Linked DNA regions of Homo sapiens: region 2 is linked to region 1. The links are contacts of gene promoters, found by promoter capture Hi-C in human tissues and cell types (Jung and others, 2019). All regions are on one chromosome and are shown on one strand. The core of a region is centred on a gene start or on the middle of the fragment in contact, and the rest is flanking DNA. Distances in the headings are between cores, read along the strand shown. Region 1 holds the start of CAMKV (CaM kinase like vesicle associated). Region 2 overlaps TRAIP (TRAF interacting protein).

Region 1 (7,631 bases), core at 2,154-4,653:
CCGTGGCATGTTTCAGCCACAGGGTGGTGTGGGAAAAGCAGGAGTCCAGGCATGGGGTCATGGATGGGGGCCCTGGCTCTCTCCAAAGGCATGCCCTGCCTCTGCACTCTGGAACTCCATGGGCCCTGGCAACCTACCCTTTCTAGACAGCCCCGGAGCCCCTTGACTGGCATTGGCTCTGATCTGGCCTGACCTTTACTGCACCCCAAGGGCAACCACAGACAGTGGCTGCTGTGGGTTTTGCCCCGTTGCCCTGACGACAAGTGCAATTACCCTTGATTGCCAGCTTGTTGCCATGGCAATTTCAAACATAATGTAATAACCCACACAGCCTGGAGTGAGTCACAAGGTGGGGGGCGGGGGGCAGCCCCCTCCCCTGGCTCCAGAGGAAAAGACTGCTTGCCCTTCCCCATTGTGGGCCCTCTTCTGGGGACTGAAGCCAAGCAACATGGACAACAGTCAGGCAGTTTCAAAGATGGCTGGGGGCCTGGGGTGGGAGGGTTCTGTCAGAGTTCAGGCTTCTTGGGGAGCTGCACTGGTAATCTAGGTACCTCCTAGAGTCTGAACCTTTGCTGGAGCGCTATGCTGGGTTAGCAGGGGCTTCTATCAGCCAGCCAGAATCTAAGGGCATAGGAGTGCCGGCCTTTGGCACCCTAGAGCTGGGAGTTGGGGGCACAGATAAGTCCTGGATCCTGGGTAGGAGGCCCAACCTGAGCTGGGGGATGAAGCTCTGTGGATACTGCGGCTCGCACCTTATTCTGCCCCTCTGACTTTCTAGCTTTGGTGGGAGCCAGAACTACGAACTTGGGCCCTCTTCTCCTCCTCAGCCTCCCAACCCAGGCAGCCCCTGTCTTCAGGGTACAGGCCTCCTTAGGAGGGTCCTCATAAAGGCTACTAGGCAATGCTAATCTGGATTGCCTCTGCTCTTGTTCCAAACTCTGGTCTGTGCTAAAGGGCCTCCTGCCATCACTCTGGCCAGTGGAGTGGTGAGAAATCATGTCCCCTGACCCCGTCTGGCTTTGAATAGTGGAAGTAAGAACAAAGCTCAGCATTGGTCCCGTCCCTGCCCTGGAAGAGCTAAGAGGATGGCATTCAGCTGATGTTACTATCTCCTGCCTGAAAGGCAGCTGGAGGTTGAAGCCAAAACATTGAAGCCGGTCCTACCCTGCCTGTGCCTTCCTGTCTAGGGGCTGAGGGATAAGCCATGGCTCAATCCTAGCCCTGGGTTCTTGTCTTCAGATTGCCCTCCACAAATGGCAAAGACTTGTCTATCTTCACATACACCAGAGATCAAGGGGCTGCTCTGGTGGGGAGCCTGAAAACAGCCAATGATGTAGGGTCAGCACAGACCCTGCCCACTGCTGGACATGGTCCAGCCCCCTTCCCATGTCCAGCTCTCAAAGCCTGATTCAGCCTCCACAATCCTGAGACTTGTGTCAGGCAGGAAGGGGACTGATAACTCCAGGGACCAGCTACAGCGTCCACACACACGTGCCAGCAAGCATGCCTGGGTGCACAAAGAATGCAGACACACGTGCCCCTGGGCACCACTGCATACACTGTGCTGTTGCATCTCCCTCGGCAAAAGAGAGCATACACAACACGTACACGTGTGCACACACACCCTGCCACGTGCTCTCACCCACATGCACAGAGCGTGCTTAGGACCAAGAAGAGGTGGAGTACTGCCAGCAGCAGGCAGGGCGCTAAGGAGCCACCCCTTCCCCTGCCTAAAAATCCCCATTCCAGCTTCTCATTGACCCCCATGCCTGGATAGCCATGACCCTCAGGAAAGACAGAAAACATGTATGTGGCATGTGTGGGGTCAGCAAGCTACAGCTTGGCTACACCATAAAACTCAGAGACCCATTGTTTCAAGAATAGTGGGCAGATGGCAGGAAGGACTCAGTGCCAGGCCATTCATTCATTCTGCAGACATCAGCCGAGCATACTGAGATGAGAAACGGGTTCTGCCTTGCAGATACCCAGCCTGCCAGGAGATTCCTACCCAGTGGTGGGGTGGGTCCCATAACCCGAGACCACTCAGAGCCCAGGGACCCCAGAAGTGGCACCAGCCTGGCCTAGAGGAGGTAACACCAAGCCAGGGAGGAAGGTGAAGGGCTCAGTACCCCCTCTGGAGGAAAATTTTGAGGAACCTTGTTTGAGGCGGTCATTTCCTAAGCTAGCCTTCAGTCTGAGCCCCAGCCCCAGCTTCTGGACTTGGACAGTCCCTCCTGTCATCAGCCATGGGTGGCCAGGGCAGCCTCAAGATGGCTGAGGGTTTGGGGATGACCCCAACTCCCTCTCCCACAGCAGGGTCAGGAGGCTCACTGGGAGGAGTGAGGTGGGATAAAACCCAGCTCCAGACACTGAGAGGCCTGAGTCTGGTCTTCAGATACTGGCCTTAGGATGGTCCTCAGGGCTTGTGAGGGGTGTGGGTCAGGCTTTGGGTCCGTGAGCCTCACTGACAAGGGACAGAGAAATGGCCAAGGACTTCCTTTAAAGCTTCCTCCTGGTGGTTCTGAGCCTCCTCCCTCTGATTAGCACCCAGGCCAGGTGGGATACCTTGGTGCCACAGTTCTCCTGTGTCCCCATATCCCAGGCCAGGCCACTAGAGTGATACAACTCATGAAGTGTTTGACAGTGATTAGACTGAAAAGAAAGCAGAGGCCACACCATGTCACAGGTGACTTTTATAGTTTGGGAAATTTGGTGCCACACAGGAAGGGGCTGACTGTGCTGCCACCCTTGCTGGTACTTATGTTTGGGAAAGACTCTGGCCTTGCAGGAGTTGGGGATGGGGTGGGATAGGAGACTTTGCTACTACAGTCTAGGGCCCTCACTGTTTTCACACTGACTACCTGCAAACACACACCTCTGTGTGTTTACTGCTCCTAGCTAGGGGATGCGTAGCTAGGGGATGCTAGGGGATGCCACACTGACTACCTGCAAACACACACCTCTGTGTGTTTACTGCTCCTAGCTAGGGGAGCCTGCCCTAGCCCGACTGCCCATCTGGTTTTTCTAAGTTGGTCCTGCCTTTTGGGTCGGGTTCGGGGAGCTGGGCAAAGCCCCGTTCCCTAGAGACTAATGACTGGCAAGCGATCCTATGCAGCTCCAGGACTCAGGCTTTCCCCCAACTCTCCACTCACCACCCCTTACATTGGGCATAGGAGGCCTCCTCCGGCCCCAGGCTGAGGGCCTAAGGGAGCCATTGAGAACCTTGGCCAGGGCTAAGCAGGCCAGTGCTCACCAGCACCGCTGCCATCCCGCGCGCTCCTGCTCTCCAGTGGGATTCTGCCCTTAAGGCTCCGCCAGGGTCGGGGCGGGGCCGGTTGGGAGGCCCCGCCCCCAGCCCGCCCCCGGCCCGGGGTGCGAATCCGGTGCCGGCAAGCGGCTGGCGATGCTGGAGGTTCGCTAGCCGAAGCGGCTGCATCTGGCGCCGCGTCTGCCCCGCGTGCTCGGAGCGGATTCTGCCCGCCGTCCCCGGAGCCCTCGGCGCCCCGCTGAGCCCGCGATCACTTCCTCCCTGTGACCAACCGGCGCTGCAGGTGCGGGGCGGGCCGGGCTGGGGGCGCTTCCCGAACGCAGGTTGTGGGGCCTTGGGGGATTGTTTCCCTGGCTCGAGGTGCGGGATGCAGAGTGCGCGGGGGCGCAGCGAGGGCTCGAGGTCCTGGCGGGGTCAGAGCGCGCGGGCTTTGCAGATTTGGGGGAGGGAGTGCGGGGTCGGGCTAAAGTTCCCCATTACCTCGGACGGCTTGGGGGTTCTGGGGGGAAGCTTCTGCGGCTCGGAATTGTGAAAAGATTAACCCTCGAAGATTCGTGGTCCCCCGTGAGGATAGGGGCCGAGAGCTGAGCCGTCCCTCCCCGTTCCCAGAGCCGCCTCCAGCCCCTCCCAACTGTCCCCGGGCCCCTTCCCTCCCGCTTAGCAGTCACTAATTTCCATGACAACGGAGAGTTCTTTATGGGCGACAACCCGGAGGGGGCTGGGCGGGGCTGCCGCGGGGTGGGGGAGGAAGCTCCAAGCCCCTGGGGACCAGCAGCCCCCCAGCCAAAATTCAGCTTCCAAGCCTTCACCTGGGTGCCAGCTGGGGGTCCAGTGCATGGACCCACGTGCACGGTGGGGGTGGGGGCGCACATGTTCCTGCTGGGAGGTGCGGGGCTTGGTGCTCACACGTGTGCTTTCCGCATGTGTGTTGCTGTGCCAGCGGGGGCGAGCCAGCAGCACTTGGGAAAGGGGTCAGGGTGGCAGCACGGTGGGGAGCAGGGCCCCTGGCTGGAGGTGGCTGGGATAGTGACAGCATGAGCTTCTGCCTTCCCCAGCTTGTACTGTTTGGCAGAGACCCTGGGCTCTTGAGCCCCAGCCCCCTCCCCGCATAGCTCTGCCAAATTGCTTTTGTCCGCACCTCCCAGGCAGATCCTGCTCCACCAGGTTCCTTCCTAAGGATCAGGGCCCTCTGTCCCACACTAAAAGCTCAGAGTCTGCAGTAGTCCAGTCCCTGTGCTGTACTCCCCTTACCCCCAAGTCCAGGCTTTGAGCCCCCAGGACTACCTTTAGAGACCTGGTGCCCTCCCCCACCCTCAGAGTTGATTCCTGGCAGCTCCAGCGACTTCTGAGCCTCAGTTTCCTCAACTGGGGAACTGGTGTCTCCACTCAGAGTCAGGTTGGTTTCCAGGGTGGGGCAAGGGTCTCCCTTTTCTAATATTTGGTGTGGACCCTTCAGGTGCTCTCCTAGGCTGGCTGTTCACATATCTCTGATGGCCCTACTCTCCAGCCCCATGCCCTGGCCACCATTCACAGGCAGGCAAGCAGTCCTCTGCCCTGGGAGAAGGCCAGATTCCATGGTTTCCATTAGGGGAAACTGAGGCATGGGGAGGTGAAGGGCTGTGTGGTTATCCTGTTTCTGGGTTGCTTGTGGTGCCGTTTCTGGCACTCATGGCAGGATCTGCTGTTGGGGGTTGGTGAGAGGGGATTAAGCAGAGCTGTAAGAGGGGCTCTGGGGACCCAAAGCCTGGAAAGGATAGCAGATGGGGGAGGGGTTGGCTGGGAGGGTCTAAGTACAGCTGGGCCAACTGAGAAGAGGGACTATAAAGGGAAGCAGCCAGGCATCCGAGCCTCATTTCCATACCCCTATGCGTCTGCCTTCAACATGTTGGACCTGCTTTACCTAAGCTGCCGTGATGGCAGAGAGACGGGCTGGGAACTGTCCTGACTGGGGGGCTGCAGCAGCTGGCCTCTTCCCCACCAACATGCTCCAAGGAGCTGGCCTCCTTTTGGCTGTGCCTCCTACACCAAGTTCAGTGTATGTTTGGGGGATACAGGAGGGTGCAGTCTCGAAGGTCCCAGTACCATGGATAGCTCCTGGCCCAGGGATTTAGAGCACATCGCCATGGAGGCCTTAGGGCTCTGCTGGGCACCCATCCGCCCCCTTCAGAACTCCCGTCCACCTCCCCTTTCCTGCCCTTTGTGCCTGTGTCCCTTTTACTTTGTCATCTCCTTGCTCCTCTTCCATCACAGGTTCTGTCTTTGTCTGTGTCTCTGCCCCATTCTCTTTTTTCTAAATTCTCTCCATCTCCCCACCTCCCCTTTCTTGATGGGGACCTGGGTCACAGAACCTTGAAGAAGCAGCCAGGCTAAGGTCTCAGGAAATTCTTGAAGAAGGGACCTGACCAACACATCTCCCCTCCCCCTCCCCTTGTTTTAAAACTTCCATCACCATAGCAACCCTTTACTCTAGTGCCTTCCTCTGCATTTCCCCTCCTCCACCCACAGGGAAGCAGAGCCTCCAGTGGATTCTCCTTCAGGGGTTCAGAGATTTGGACCCCAAGTGCTTGGGAGGAGACAGCTGGCCTTTGGCTTTGCCTGCATGTTGACAGCTAAACTTTCGGGATGTAGCACTGGACTGCATGCCCACCCCCAAAACTGGAGAGACCTCCCCACAATACTCCCTCATTAGATGGGCAAAATTCAGCTGTAGGAACTTCTACCATGATTTAGCTCGAGCCGGAGGCTCAGTCAGGGCAGCCCCTTGACCGGTCCCCTGAAGCAATTGGATGGTGGTCTAGAAGCTTGGCCCTTGTTCTTAACAGACCTTGAGGGAGGTCTTCAGCTCCCCTGGTCCTGTGGGTGACACCTCAGCTGTGAGTTAAGCAGGGCTTGGGCTTCAGCATGTTCATTGCAGCAGGAAACCCAGCCCCAGCCCTTGAGAGAGTAGAGCAGCAGAGAGGAGGGGGTGCCTGCAGGCTGGTGTTCACAGCTGCCACTAAATTAGGAGGTGTTGCCTACAGTTGTTGGGAGGCAGCTGGAGGCCTCTTGGGCCCCTCCTGGCCTCCCTAGATTTACTGCAAGCTCTGGAGCCCCACGTGGCAGGGGACCAAGGTAGCAGGAAACTCTGTTTATGTCTATGAAAGGTAGGGCCTGAACCAGGATGATCTCAGCGGAGGAGGGGACAGGACCCCAATGTGGGGCCTCCGGACCTCTTGGCCTTTGTCCCGTTTGGGCTTTCCCTGGGCCAGACTTACCTAAAGATGCAGCAGAGTCCCTGGGGGACCATTTATCACCAGGGCACCAACAGAGGACCCCTCAGGATTGCTGGAGGCTCAATTCCCTGAGTCCAGTGGTCAGGCCCTGGGAGCAGGCCATAACTGGGGAGTGCTTGGCTCTCAGGCTCCATGAGAGCCAGCTGGAGGGCAATGGCCGCACCAGGGCCTGCACTCCCCACAAGCTCCCTCTGGGCAGCCGGTAGTGCATACTGTTCAGTTCCTCTGCAGAGAGTGGAGGGAGCCATGTCTCCAGGGAAATGGCTGTTGTGGAGCTCCCATGCCCTTCCATGGCCTAAGTGTACCTGAGGAAGAGCTCAGATCCTGTGTTGCTGAGAGGAGAGCTCTCCATTGTTGGGTGTTGGGTCTGGGCCATGGGGGTGAAAAATACAAACCCCTTCCACTTGGCCTCCTCTCTTTCTGAGAGCTGTCCCTTGGCTGTTCCTCCCAGGTCTCCTTTGTTGCAAGCAGGTGCCCAGGGCTTGGTGCACACACCCGAAACCTCCCAGGGAGCAACAGTGGATAGCAGATGGTGGAGTGGGTGTGGGCAGAGGGAACCAAGGTGCTAATTGAAAGCCAGGCCCCTCTTTCTCCTCTCTTTGCCCTGGGGCCAAGTCCAGGGCCCCAAGCCAGTATACTTAGACTGGTGAGGAGGAGGAGGAGGAGGAGTGACTGGCTGAAATTTGGGCAGCCATAGTAGGGGGCAGGGGAGACAGATCTGTTCCCATCTCAGCCTTGAGGCTTCAGGACATGGCTCCAGGCTGACATTACGGGGTGGAGGCCCAGTTTTCTGTGCCTTTCATGGGACAGACCCCCATGACCAGCCCTGGACCTCAGTGGGCACGAATGCATATGCAGAGCCGAAAGCTGGGGCCAGGATCAAGGACAGGCATGCACAAAACCTCCCACCCACGCCACACTGGCAAAGCTGGGAGCTGTTGGAGTGGGGTGGGGGGTGGGGCATGGAGGTTGTGGAAGGTATCTCAGAAAAGGGCCATTTTGAGTCTGGCCTTCGAGCATCAGGATTGTTTTGGACAATGTGTTGCACAAACCACCTTATAATGTCAGAAATCACAATGAAAGAAGAGATT
Region 2 (7,046 bases), core at 79-2,578, 35 kb after region 1:
CCAGGCTGGAGTGCAGTGGCACGATCTCGGCTCACTTCAAGCTCCGCCTCCCCGGTTCACGCTATTCTCCTGCCTCAGCCTCCCGAGTAGCTGGGACTACAGGTGCCCGCCACCACGCCCGGCTAATTTTTTGTATTTTTAGTAGAGACAGGGTTTCACCGTGTTAGCCAGGATGGTCTCCATCTCCTGACCTTGTGATCCACCCACCTCGGCCTCCCAAAGTGCTGGGATTACAGGTGTGCGCCACCGTGCCCGGCCAAGAAGTTTCTTAAGTTTTTTAAGAAGCTTCTTAATTTTTATAACTTTTTACTGCAGCAGTATTTTTTATTGTAGTAAAATATAAACAAAACTCACCATTGTAACCATTTTTAAGTACATTTCTGTGGCATCAAGTACATTTAATTGCTGTGCAACCATCACCACCATCCCACTCCAGAATGTTTTCATCTTCCCAAAGTGAAATTCTATACCCATTAAACAATAACTCCCCTTTCCCCTTTCTCCTCAGCTCCTTCACTTACCATTCTTTCTGTCTCTATCAATTTGACTACTTTAGGAGCCTCATATAAGTGGACTCATACAATATTTGTCCTTTTATTACTGGCTTATTTCACTTAGCATAATGTCTTCAAGGTTTATCCATGTAGCATGTATTAGAATTTTCTTCCTTTTTAGGGCTGAATCAGTAATCATATTTAATTTTTTTTTGAGACAGGGTCTTGCTCTGTTGCCCAGGCTGGAGTGCAGTGGCACGATCTCGGCTCACTGCAACCTCCACCCCCTGGGTTCAAGGGATCCTCCCACCTCAGCCTTCCAAGTAGCTGAGATTACAGGCATGTGCCACAATGCCCAGTTAATTTATTTAATTTTATTTTTTGTAGAGATAGAGTCTTAATATGTTGCCCAGGTCAGTATTGAACTCCTGGCCTCAAGCCATCCTCCCACCTCAGCCTCCCAAATTGTTGGTATTACAGGCGTGAGCTACTGTGCCTGGCAGTATTCATGTTTTAAATTTGCAAGCATTCTTTCTTGCTCTTTGAGTATGTCTGTTTTGCAAAGCATCATGTTCTTGTTTTATGGTCTCATATTTCTGTTTGTCTCAGAGTCAGTATTTGTGCACCATGGACTTTTTCCTGGGCTCCCCTCCCATACCTGGTGGTCCTTGGCTACTTTGGAGGCCAACCTATGTGGGTAGGGTTTGGGGGGGATGTGCAGACTGCTGGCATCATGTTGAGTCTTACCTGAACCCAGGATGCAGAAGGCTTTACTGTTGGGTCCAATAATATTGGCTGCCCTAGGTCATTGTACATAGTTTGTTTAGTGTCTTTGAGAAAAGCTCTTCTATTTATTGGCCCAGGGCAGCAGCCTAACTGCCTAGTGTTCTACCAATGCAGATTAGGATGGGGTGGAGCCAAGCTCACAATTTCATCAGTGTTCCAGTTTTCAGGCCTGTTTAATGCTTTTGCAAGGCCCTCCCTTTCCTTCATGGACCCCCTCCTTGTGGGTTCTGGCTGCTGTGTCAGTCTCTTGTCCCCTGGCCATGCTTTGTCTCCCAGAATTTTTTGGAAATCTCTGGGGGCTGATGGTGGTTGCCCCTTCTACTTGTTGCAGTAGGATTACCCTTCATACCTGTCATTTTAGGGAGGCATCAGCATGTAGCCACCACCCCCAACTACAGAGTCAATGTTAGGAAGATCTCTCTCATGGGCCCCAAGGGCCCCTGAACTCCAGGCTAGAGACAGCCAGGGAGACCTTTCCTTAGGGTAGGGTAAGGCCGCCAGGAGCCATGAGTTCATGGAGGAGATGTTGACTAATCCCATGCCACGCAGGCAATGGGCTGCTCAAGGCCTTAGCTCTGTTCTGGAAAGGGGAGCTTTGAGTGTCTTGCCTGGCTCCCTGAGGCCTCTGGCATGAAGCCCTGTAACTTGACCATGGGTGGGTGTCCCAAGGGTGATAGTGTCACTCAGGAGGGCCTCAAGCCAGCCTCAACCAGTGAGGGAAGGACTACTAAGCCCTAGGTTCTTTCTCCTTGTAGGACAAACAGAAAGTGGGAAGGAAAGAAAGTGGACCCCTGGCAGAAAGGGAAATAGGCTTCAAGCTCATGAAGGAAGAAGAATATAGAAACAGTCTAAGACAAGGCCGGGCGCGGTGGCTCATGCCTGTAATACCAGCACTTTGGGAGGCCGAGGTGGGCAGATCACGAGGTCAGGAGAGCGAGACCATCCTGGCTAACACGGTGTAACCCCATCTCTACTAAAAATACAAAAAATTAGCTGGGCGTGGTGGCGGGCGCCTGTAGCCCCAGCTACTCAGGAGGCTGAGGCAGGAGAATGGCTTGAACCCGGAAGGCGGAGCTTGCAGTGAGCCGAGATCGCACCACTGCACTCCAGCCTGGGTGACAGAGCAAGATTCCGTCTCAAAAAAAAAAAAAAGAAACAGTCTAAGAGAGGAAGAAATGTGTCCATATGATCCAGATGTGGATATGGGGAGTGAGGGAGGCACCGTGAGAACCTCCTGAGTCTTGAGTTTAGTGTTGTGGATGACCAGGAGGTGCAAGTGAATAAGCCTGGCTTGCCTTGAGCTTGGGCACCACTAGGCAACGCCTTAGGGGATGGCTGGGAGTAGAAAGTCCTGCCTTGAGCCACCTGGAGGGTAAAATTTACAGGACCCAGCGAGATCCTGCCTTCCTCTTGAGTTTACCTTTCCTAACCTGAGCCTCAACTTGCTGGGGTTGGTAAATGGTGGCAGAATATGGATACTGCAAAAAAGTTGGCATGAGTGGTCCTGGCTGCTGTGGTTCCCAGAGGAGGAAGCAAAGCAGCCAGCCTAGAGTTGGTTTGAGGTGGGTTTGTGCAGTCTTCATTTTAACTTGCAGGCGGGGACAGAGGTAGAGCTTCTAGGGTCCTGGACAGGGAAAGGAAGAAATAGTCCAGGCTGCCTGGATTGCTTAGCCACCCAAATCAATGCAGGTAGGCTTCCTCCCTCTGATGTGTACACCCCAGTGGAAGTGGGATTGTGGTGCAGCTCTGAAAAGTTCCTGAGGAAGGAAAGAGAGAAGGCATCTTTGGAGCTACCCTTGCCATTCCCCAGGGTTCTCCTTGTATGACAGGAGGTGGGGAGCCCTGCCAGGTCTGGGTGGGCTGGAAGAATCCTGTCGGCTGTAGTTTTAATAGAATAAAACTTCACTCCCCACCCCCCACCCCCCCCCCCCCCCCGTGTTATAAAAGTAAAAACACACTCATTGAGAATTTGGAAAATAGGGAGTTATCATAGAGGTACTTATGGTTGACATGTGGAATATTTCCTTCTCCTTTTTCTGCATGTGGGAGTGGTGGGGGGGTGCCAAATCATGTAATTGCACTATACATGGAGTTTTGTGTGCTTTTTAAATTAAATTAAATTTAAACTTTTTTTTTTTTTTTTCCTGAGACGGAGTCTTGCTCTGTCGCCCAGGCTGGAGTGCAGTGGCGCGATCTCGGCTCACCGCAAGCTCTGCCTCCCGAGTTCAAGCAATTCTCCTGCCTCAGCCTCCCGAGTAGCTGGGACTACAGACACAAGCCACCACACCCAGCTAATTTTTGTATTTTTAGTAGGATGGGGTTTCACCATGTTAGCCCGGGTGGTCTTGATCTCTTGACCGCTTGATCCACCCGCCTTGGCCTCCCAAAGTGCTGGGATTACAGGCGTGAGCCACTGTGCCTGGCCGAGAGTAGGGCTCTCTTGAGGGGTGGCCTTGAGTCAGGAGTGGGCTCCAGGTCCCTGGAGCTGAGTTATCTCTGATGCTTCAGGAGCTGTTGTCCTGGGTTACCACTGTGGCCCCAAGTAACCAGGTCATCTCTGCCTTCAGCCCAGCCCCTGTGGAGGTGAATCTGAAGCTCCGCCGGCCATCCTTCCGTGATGATATTGATCTCAATGCTACCTTTGATGTGGATACTCCCCCAGCCCGGCCCTCCAGCTCCCAGCATGGTTACTACGAAAAACTTTGCCTAGAGAAGTCACAGTGAGTGATAGTCGCTGGCACTGTCCATGGGCTGGTAGGGGGATAGCTAAGACAGCTCTGCAGGCCCTGTGCTGTTAGCTCTGAGTGGCTGATGGGGCAGTGAGGGTTGCCTAGGCTTGGCCATGGCTTTGGTTCCAGCTACCTCTTGTTCCCTCACCTGAGCACTCAATCTGTGCAAACCCCTTCTCTTTTCTCATTATTCCTCACCATCACCTTTCAAGGCAAACGTATTGGAATGCAAGTTAGAGAGAATGCAGTGATGCCAGAAGGGGTGGGTCTGGGCTGGAGAGGGTGCTCCCAATACCTTGAAGGCCTGCCCACCAGAGTCCTGAGCGAGGGACTCTGAACTTCCTCTTCTATGTTTGCCTCTGAGGCTCATGCCTGAGGGAGGATCATCTCAAACCACAGAGCCCAAGGCCTTACCACCCAAGGGGGTGACCCACAGGGGCAAGCATGAGAAGCTGTCTGGAATTCCAGTGGGGCAGGTGGAACCTGCTCTGGGGTACGGTGGGACCAGAAAAAGGGAGGCTGTCTCCTTGGCCAGCTTTGCCAAGTGTAATTCACTGTGGAGACAAGGACTATACTCATTCATACAGGTACTGTTCAGGTGAGGCTGGTCAAGGGCTGGGCAGGTTTCCTCTTTTTCAAAGACTTTGTACAGAGAGAAAGAAGAGAAAGAGAAAGAAACTGAGATGCTAGACAGTGGAGGTGGAAGGGAGCAAGAGGGCAAGCCAGCTGGGCTGTCCTACCTCCCAAACCTCAGGGGGCATGGGCACCCCTGTTGTAGAGGGCGAGGCCTGGTAGCAATGAGAAACAAACCTAGGACCCGTGGGCTGTAGTCCTCAGGGATCCTGTCAGTGTCTGCTGTGTACTCTGGCTTCCTCCCATTGCCCTTCTTCCGCTGTAAAGGTTGAAGGTGGACACCTGGGGTCTTCAGGCTGCCAGGCCTTTCAGAGACATTTCCACCACCTTCATGGCCTGTGGAGGTAGTGAAGGAGGTAGTGAAGTTCTGAGTCCCTAACTCAGCTCGTCCTTCCTGGAGCCTTGGTTGTCATGTAGCCTTACCACAGGCCGTTAGGGCAGGAGCAGAGGAGTCAGTCATCAGGCCCTGATCCCACTCTTGTCCTTATGGCTTGAGAAGCCACAGGGCCAGCCTTAGATCACCATCTTCTCACCCACCAGGGAAAATGCCAGGAGAGGGTATCCAGCTGCTGGGTTCCCCAGGAATTGGATGGAAATACAGTTTCTGGCTCTGGGGCTGGGATTGGGAGACCAGGGCCTGGGGCCATGCGCTATTCTGCCCCAGGCCCTTCTTAGACACACTCTCTAGGGAGATGGCTTGGCCCTGTGTTCTGAGAGGATTTTGTGGGCTACTTTACTGAAAGGCTAACTTACTGAGGCTCTCGTGGAGGTAGTGTCCCCTCTCTGGGAAGACAGGACTAGGCCTGAGCTCATTAAATTTCTTTTGCTCGTATCAGGGCATGACTGGCTTTCCTCCCGTGGGTGGTGAGTTGATTGGGCTCTTCAGCCCCATATAGAGCCTGGGACATGGTGAGGTGCCCGAGGACTTGAGGAGCGTTGGAATTTGGCCTTGAGTGGAAGCCACAGGATTGGGACATGGTCCAGTCATCCCCAGTCATCCCTGTCTCTGCCACCCTACTGGCTGTGGCTGTCCAGCTGTTAACAGACCTGCACTTGGGGTGGGATCACTGAGGTGCCTTGCCCAGAATGCAGGCATGGCAGCAGCAGTGCCACATGGTAACTCCCCAAGGGGCGTGTGCTGAGCCTGGTTCACCTGCCCCCATGTCTTGCTTACCTACCCCTTGCCTTCTCTCTCATTCTTGTAGCTCCCCAATTCAGGATGTCCCCAAGAAGATATGCAAAGGCCCCAGGAAGGTAAGAGCTTTCTAGAAGAAGCACAGTCTAACCTTTGGCAGGACTGGACTTTTGGGAGGGCACGGTCTTGCCAGAGCCTTGTCACTCCTGGTCCAGGACTGAGGTACTTCGGAGCCACCCTTGGGATTCTACTCATTATCCCTCCTGCCTCCTAGTGAGGCATCAGAGATCCTGATCTTGTTCCACCACCACTACCCTCCCTCCTTTGCTGACATCCAGCTCATCAAGTCTGGCCCTGGGGTCTTCCCTGCAGGAGTCCCAGCTCTCACTGGGTGGCCAGAGCTGTGCAGGAGAGCCAGATGAGGAACTGGTTGGTGCCTTCCCTATTTTTGTCCGGAATGCCATCCTAGGCCAGAAACAGCCCAAGAGGCCCAGGTCAGAGTCCTCTTGCAGCAAAGATGTGGTGAGTGTGGCTTCCCACAGTGGCAGGAGCCAGCCCTCTTGGGTAGAAATGGGTGGCCAGCCCCCCAGCCCATTAGCCTGGCCCACTCATCTCTTCCTTCCACCCTAGGTAAGGACAGGCTTCGATGGGCTCGGTGGCCGGACAAAATTCATCCAGCCTGTATCCTTTTCCTGTGATGTTGAGCTGAGCTGAACTGTGGAGCCCATACTATGCCTCACCTATACCCCCAGCCTGCCAGTGCCAACAGCCTCAGGTGTGCAGTGCTGGGCCTCATTCTGTGTATCAGCGCCGCCCACCCCCGGCTCTGAGCCTTTCTTGCCCTGCATTGCAGTCCTTTCTCGCCCTGCATTGCAGTCCTTTCTCCATGCCTCTTCCTTGACAGCTCCTCCAGACTGACACAGTCATGATCCGCCCATTGCCTGTTAAGCCCAAGACCAAGGTTAAGCAGAGGGTGAGGGTGAAGACAGTGCCTTCTCTCTTCCAGGCCAAGCTGGACACCTTCCTGTGGTCGTGAGAACAGTGAGTCTGACCAATGGCCAGACACATGCCTGCAACTTGTAGGTCAAGGACTGTCCAGGCAGGGGTTTTGTGGACAGAGCCCCACTTTCGGGACCAGCCTGAGGTGTAAGGGCAGACAAACAGGTGAGGGTGAGTGTGGCACCCAGAGACTGCTCTTCCTGCCCTCACCCTGCCCCACTCCTACGACTGGGAGCTGACATGACCAGCCCACTGATCCTGTCAGCAGGT

What was found. Contacts are between HindIII fragments. The study calls those that stand out against the background at their distance.
Region 2: a contact is called between a fragment that was not itself captured here and the fragment with the promoter of CAMKV in region 1, in 1 of the 25 tissues and cell types used here (bladder).

What each region holds. Positions count from the first base shown.
Region 1 is chr3:49,865,678-49,873,308 of GRCh38, reverse strand. CAMKV (CaM kinase like vesicle associated) reads left to right here and starts at 3,403. Exons shown (of 11, transcript NM_024046.5): 1 at 3,403-3,551. RefSeq lists enhancers at 3,719-4,650, 4,651-5,583. The HindIII fragment of the contact is 8,966 bases long and covers 1-4,924 here.
Region 2 is chr3:49,828,870-49,835,915 of GRCh38, reverse strand. It overlaps TRAIP (TRAF interacting protein), which reads left to right. Exons shown (of 15, transcript NM_005879.3): 11 at 3,848-4,000; 12 at 5,848-5,896; 13 at 6,150-6,299; 14 at 6,408-6,458; 15 at 6,691-7,046. The coding sequence ends at 6,813. Among named protein-coding and RNA genes, the nearest start is that of UBA7, 18 kb to the right of the region's middle. The HindIII fragment of the contact is 4,817 bases long and covers 1-3,736 here.